2 separate regions of the Homo sapiens genome follow, and region 2 is linked to region 1. The links are contacts of gene promoters, found by promoter capture Hi-C in blood cells and fetal thymus (Javierre and others, 2016). All regions are on one chromosome and are shown on one strand. Each heading gives the region's core, a stretch centred on a gene start or on the middle of the fragment in contact. The rest is flanking DNA. Distances are from core to core; before and after follow the strand shown. Region 1 holds the start of H2AC15 (H2A clustered histone 15). Region 2 has its middle 9.2 kb from the start of TRV-CAC6-1.

Region 1 (3,409 bases), core at 523-3,022:
CCTAAATTGTGCAGAAGGGTCAGATACCTAAATTTTGCTTCCATGGTCTTATGAAGTATAAACTAAAAGCCCAAGTAAGGAGCAAAGGTTAGTTTACCAATTTTATCTCTGGAACCCAGGTACACTGAAAAGTATTATTTAGCTAGCTTTCAGTCCTCTGTAATACAGAAAGTAAATATCTGACACTAGGTTCATTTGAAACACTCTTGCTCTGTCACACAAGCTGGACTGCAGTGGTGCAATCATAGCTCATTGCAGCCTCGAACTCCTGGGCTCAAGTGATCCTTCTGGTCTCAGCCTCCCGAGTAGCTAGGACTACAGGCTATGAGACGCCAGGCACGGTTAGTTATTTTACTTTTGTAAAGATCAGGCTGGCTTCGAACTCCAAGGCTCTAGCGGTCCTTCCGCCTCGGCTTCCCAAAGCGGTTCTGTTTACCGGATGGTGCCAAACAGTTCCAGGCTCTTGGTGCCCGGTAGAAATTGGACGACACACACACAGATAGCAAAGCAAAGCAGCAAAAGTTTAGTAAACAGAGTATTACACTCTCGGGGGTGGGAGAGAGCGGACTGACCTCTGCGAGGTGAGATCAGCGTCAGCTTGCTGTAGTTTGAGTCATTTTATGTGTGTGCGTGCGTGTGTGTATGTTTTCTGTTCCCAGTGCTGCCTAATCTATAGCCAGCATCTGCCCTTTTATTGATAGGTTTGTTGCTTACTTTGTCCTCTGTGGCTTGTGCCTCTATCTTATAATCTTAAATATATGCATGATATGTAGCCCATATGCATGAACCTTAAGTAGCTGATTATCATACGGGCTTTTGTTAAGGATACTTTTCCTCTCTAATACGCATGCCCATCTCTGAAGAGCTGCCTCTTAAACTGGTTTGTTCCAGATCTTGCCGGCCACGAGGTCCTTGCTCACATTATCTCTTTTGTTTCGGCTGCAAAAGGTTCACTGCTTGTTATCTCGCTTCTTGTTCACCCGCCCATCTACCTTACTTCTGCCCTTTGCTTTTACTTATTCTGCCCTCTAACTTTCAGCTCCCTTTGTTATTCTCTTGCCTCACTTTTCTTATTGTTTCAGCTGTATTGCAGGCGCGAGCTGCCGCGCCTAAATTTCTTGATGTACCGTAAACATTTCAATGTCTACTTTCTATCTCAAAACAATGTGGTGTAAAAGCCGTTTAGTTTTGCTTCATCTCCATACAGCATTCCAGTGCCATTGCAAAATGACTCGACTATCAGATAAAACTGAACACAGCTCTACTTGGTGAAAAAGTAGGTGGCTCTGAAAAGAACCTTTTTGGTTTGGACCGAGGTATGAGTAATGAACTGCTCCAGCCCCGCTACTTGCCCTTGGCCTTGTGGTGGCTCTCAGTTTTCTTAGGCAGCAGCACGGCCTGGATATTGGGCAGGACACCACCCTGGGCGATGGTCACTTTACCAAGCAGCTTGTTGAGCTCCTCGTCGTTGCGGATGGCCAGCTGCAAGTGGCGCGGGATGATGCGGGTCTTCTTGTTGTCGCGGGCCGCGTTGCCAGCCAGTTCCAGGATCTCGGCGGTTAGGTACTCCAACACCGCCGCCAGGTACACCGGCGCTCCGGCACCGACCCGCTCAGCGTAGTTGCCCTTGCGGAGCAGTCGGTGCACTCGGCCCACTGGGAACTGAAGACCCGCCCTTGAAGAACGGGTCTTAGCCTTGGCGCGAGCTTTGCCGCCCTGCTTGCCACGTCCCGACATGACGTAAAAAATTCAATCAGTAACGTTCCTGAGACTGACGTAACGCTAAAGCTCCGCTACTTATAGTCAACAGAGGCACGAAAACTAAGCTGTGCTATTGGCTAACATTACAGTTTCGCTTTAACCAATGGGATTGCGGTTTTGAAAAACACTTATTTTGATTGGACAAAGTTAATATACGTTTCCAGGACTCACCACTGGTTAAACGCACAACTTCATTCTCTACCCCACTTGCGTTAAGAAGCAGTGAATAAGCGGTAGGTTGACAGAGCTACCGTCTTCCTGTTTTTTTCCTCCAATTTTCCGGCAGTTACTCCCAGTCATGCCCGAGCCCTCAAAGTCCGCTCCTGCCCCGAAGAAAGGCTCCAAGAAGGCAGTGACAAAGGCCCAGAAGAAGGACGGCAAGAAGCGCAAGCGCAGCCGCAAGGAGAGCTACTCCGTGTACGTGTACAAGGTGCTGAAGCAGGTCCACCCCGACACCGGTATCTCGTCCAAGGCCATGGGCATCATGAACTCCTTCGTCAATGACATCTTCGAGCGCATCGCCGGCGAGGCTTCCCGCCTGGCGCATTACAACAAGCGCTCGACCATCACCTCCAGGGAGATCCAGACGGCCGTGCGCCTGCTGCTGCCAGGGGAGCTGGCCAAGCACGCGGTGTCGGAGGGCACCAAGGCCGTCACCAAGTACACCAGTTCCAAGTGAGCCCGCCCACCGCGGAACGTTCGGTCAGTCTCGGCCCACACCCCAAAGGCTCTTTTCAGAGCCACTCAGTCTTCCCAAAGAGAACTGGCACTCACTGTTCTTACAGCAGGTATTTCTTACTTGCTACAAAGACGATTTCCAAGATTCCTTTAGCCTTGTTAGAAACTAATTTTGGCTCAAGCCTCTAATCCCGGTTCGGGAAACCGAAGCGGGTGGCTCACCTGAGGTTAGAAGTTCGAGACGAGCCTAGCCAACATGGTGAAACCCGTCTCTACTAAAAGTACAAAAAAATAGCTGGGCGTGGTGGCGGACGCCTGTAATCCCAGCTACCCGGGAAGCTGAGGCAGGAGAATCGCTTGAACCCGGCAGATGGAGGTTGCAGTGAGCCGAGATCGGGCCATTGCACCCCAGCCTGGGCAGTAAGAGCGAAACTCTGTCTCAAAAAAGAAAGAAAAAGAAAAGAAATTAATTAGCACTGCAGTGTACTGCATGTTGCAGCAACGCTTGAGACAATTTTATATCTGAAGAAGGATGAGGTTTATCATCAGACAAACCTAGTAAAGGGAAAATTCAGTTCCTGTTGACCCCAAAGAAAATATAATACTTAAGTGTCACTGGTAAAATATCCACAGTGCTTCCGGCGCTCTGTCCCTAAACTTCATGTGTACTTTAGTAATGAAGCAGTTGGCACACACACAAACGTACAAATCGACTTGTTTGTTTTGAGAGTGGTGCTGTTTCTCCTCCCTTGTCCCCAGTTTGGATTTGCTAAATATTAAGATAGAAAGGCAGTAGAAAAAAGTTTGAACCCAGTTTACAGCACCGTACACGTCAATCGGGCTGAGTTGATGTCAATGGCCAATCCCGACACTGCGAGGGCAGTTTGAAACTTGGCCACCGTTTTCTCTGGTGAGTGTTCTAGTTGGGAAAATTCTTGGCAGTGCAGGTTTTTTGGAGGAATCTTGCTGT
Region 2 (3,156 bases), core at 101-2,600, 640 kb before region 1:
GCCTTCAGTCTCTTGCCTCAGCACCTGGGTGGCTTTCTGCCCACATTAGATAAGGCCAAATTAAAAGACCAGGTTTTTAAAGCATCTCAGGCTCATTTAACTCTCCTGCCTGGGACTGACATTCTCACTGAAGCTACTGATGGACTTTCAGACATAAACCCTCTTAAATGGATTAAGACCATTAGAGGATCAACTATTGCAAATTTTGCTTTAATGTGTATCTGTTTATACTGTTTGCTTTTAGTCTACAAATACAGAAGACACCTCTAGAGAGAGACCAGACACCACGAACAAGCCTTAATAACAATGGTGGTTTTTAAAAAAAGTGGGGCATATTGGGAAAAAGGCTTGTGGGGTGCCTGCATAAGCTGGCCATAAAAATATGAGACAATAAGTTGTGGAAAGCCACAAGAGGCCTCTGAAGAGGAAAGCCTTCTTATCGCCATTATGTTCCCATGCTCTGAGTGCAACCTGCTCTCTTATCTATAAACACTGTGTTCAAGAAGAAAGACACTCCTTTGAAGCATTGGAATGTAGACAGACGTGCAGGCTCCTAGTTAAGCCCGCTCCCACTAGCTACACTCCGATAAGTTATAGATACGATGTTTGGGCACAAAGGAGATTCATTTAAACCGCTATTGCTATAGATTATGCCTATAACACACTGCCTCCCTTTCACCGTTTCGCCCTAAACGTCTGCTTCTTAGATGTAAGTGATTGTACTCAATAAATAGTGTGGAGACTGGAGCTTGGTGCCTTTTGCAGCCTCCATTTTGCAATTGGCCCCCTGGCCCCCACTCTTTATACACTTTAAACCTGTCTCTTCTCATTCCTTCGTCGCCACAAAGACTTTAACTACCCTATGGGTGGTGTTGAGGCTGGTCCCCAACAAAGATCTCTCTCCACTTAGAAAGCTTTGGAGGGGCTTCTCTCAGCTCTCCAGTCCTGGTACTTGGCAGCAGAAATACAAAGTGCGCTAGATTGATTTCTCTTAGTTTTGTGGCTGTGCTCACCAACTTCAAAAGACTTTGCACCTGAGGATGCCTCAGTGGATATTCCTCTCCACTTTCCAGCCTGCCCATTCACCTTCTTTTGGGATGCTCTCCTCTAGCAGAGACAACTGGCAGTGGTTTTTTGGCTACTTGGAATTCTGTGCTTGGGTCAAGTAGGCCCACAGGCAAATCTTAAAAATCTTTTGGAGTTTTGATGGCTTTTTCCCTCATTTAGTATTCAAGGGTTTCTCTTCCTCTGCTTGTCTGCCCATCTGCCAGGAACAAGGGCAGCTAGAAACCTCTTTTCTCATATGAAGACCTCTTTCTAGGTGGAATTTGATTAGATTCCTTTGTATCAATTCCCTGGTGGGTTCAGAAAATCTACTATTTTGTAGCTTATGCTCTTGCTTTAGTTATTAAATAGAGAGAAACAGACTCTTGCAATTTTCTACAACTTAACCAGAAATGGAATTCAGTGGGGTGTATTTTTAAATACATTTCCTGATTTCTGTGCCAAAATGCCTTTTGTCATGTCTTGAAACTATTTCCTTTAAGATACATAGCAACAGCCTAGCCACTCTCACTTAGAAAACTAACCGTTTGAGGGTCCACTTCATGCCAGGTGCTTTGCATGTTGTTTTAGGTAAACTTTAAATCACACCTCATTGATCCAATGGATATTGAGATAGCCATTATTGTTCTTATATTTAAGTTATGCAAAGTCACAAATAATGTCAACATGATGACACAAAAACATCAAGAAGTGAAACGGCTAACTACCTACAAGTGCATTCCTAAGCTTTACTTAGACTTCTAGATGAATCTGCTGGTCACATGAAGAGTGACAGGATGTCACATAAGCATTTGTTTACATTTCAGAAAGTTACCTTTAATAGTGTCCATTGATTACACAGATGTTTACTGAGAACGTGACATGATCCAGTCTAGTCTTTTTTTTTTTTTTTGGAGAGAGAGTCTCGCTCTGTCGCCCAGGGTGGAGTGCAGTGGCACGATCTCAGCTAACTGCAACCTCCGCCTCCCAGGTTCAAGCAATTCTCCTGCCTTGGCCTCTGGAGTAGCTGGGACTACAGGCGCATGCTGCCACACCTACCTAATACTTTGTATTTTAGTAGAGATGGCATTTCACCGTGTTGTCCAGGCTGTTCTCGAACTCCTGAACTCAGGCAATCTGCCCGCCTCAGCCTCCCACAGTGGTAGGATTACAGGCGTGAGCTACCGCGCCCGGCTGATCCAGTCTATTCTTTACTGTGGTCATAATGGCCCCCAAACCACACGTGGTCTCTCCTCCACTCTTCCAGACCTCAAAATCCAGAGCACTCATGACTTCTTAATAATTGCTTAAGTATCCAGATGGTCTTCTCCACCTAGGGAGTATCTTTATTTTACCTTATGAAAGATCTTCTTGGCCGGGCGCTGTGGCTCACAACTGTAATCTCAGCACTTTGGGAGGCCACCACGGACAGATCACTTCAGGTCAGGAGTTCAAGACCAACCTGACCAACATGGTGAAACCCCTTCTCTTCTAAAAATACAAAAATTAGCCAGGTGTGATGTGCCACGCCTGTAGTTCCAGCTACTGGAGAGGCTGAGGTGGGAGAATCGCTCAAACCCAGAAGGCAGGTGGAGGTTGCAGTGAGCAGAGATCACACCACTTCACTCCAGCCTGGACAACAGATTGACACTCCGTCAAAAAAAAAAAAAAAAAAAAAAAAAAGACAGGTGCAGTGGCTTATGCCTGTAATCCCAACACTTTGGGAGGCCGAGGTGGGCAGATCACGAGGTCAGGAGATCAGGACCATCCTGGCTAGCATGGTGAAATCCCATCTCTAATAAAATTCAAAAAATTAAATGGGCGTGGTGGCATGCACCTGTAATCCCAGCTACTCAGGAGGCTGAGGTAACAGAATTGCTTGAACCTGGGAGGTGGAGGTTGCAGTGAACCAAGATCACACCACTGCACTCCAGCCTGGATGACAGAGCGAGACTCTGTCTCGGAAAAAAAAAAGAAAAAAGAAAAGAAAAGTAATGTCTTGGCTGGGCACAGTGGCTCACACCTGTAATACCAGCACTTTGGGAGGCTGAGGCGGGTGGATCACCTGAGGTCAAGGGTTCCTGACCAGCATGTTGAAACCCCCTCTCTACT

The links. The method cuts DNA at HindIII sites, captures the fragments that hold promoters and counts their contacts. A CHiCAGO score of 5 or more calls a contact.
Region 2: a contact is called between a fragment that was not itself captured here and the fragment with the promoter of H2AC15 in region 1, in 1 of 17 cell types (naive CD8 T cells). The highest score is 5.2, in naive CD8 T cells.

The regions. Positions count from the first base shown.
Region 1 is chr6:27,836,603-27,840,011 of GRCh38, forward strand. H2AC15 (H2A clustered histone 15) reads right to left here and starts at 1,773. Exons shown (of 1, transcript NM_003510.3): 1 at 1,278-1,773. The coding sequence starts at 1,737. The coding sequence ends at 1,345. It overlaps H2BC15 (H2B clustered histone 15), which reads left to right and starts at 1,967. Exons shown (of 1, transcript NM_003520.4): 1 at 1,967-2,508. The coding sequence starts at 2,060. The coding sequence ends at 2,440. RefSeq lists enhancers at 1-840, 929-1,018, 1,089-1,138, 1,409-1,518, 1,589-1,678 and 3 more. The HindIII fragment of the contact is 16,643 bases long and covers 1-3,409 here.
Region 2 is chr6:27,195,389-27,198,544 of GRCh38, forward strand. No RefSeq gene overlaps it. Among named protein-coding and RNA genes, the nearest start is that of TRV-CAC6-1, 9.2 kb to the right of the region's middle. The HindIII fragment of the contact is 877 bases long and covers 913-1,789 here.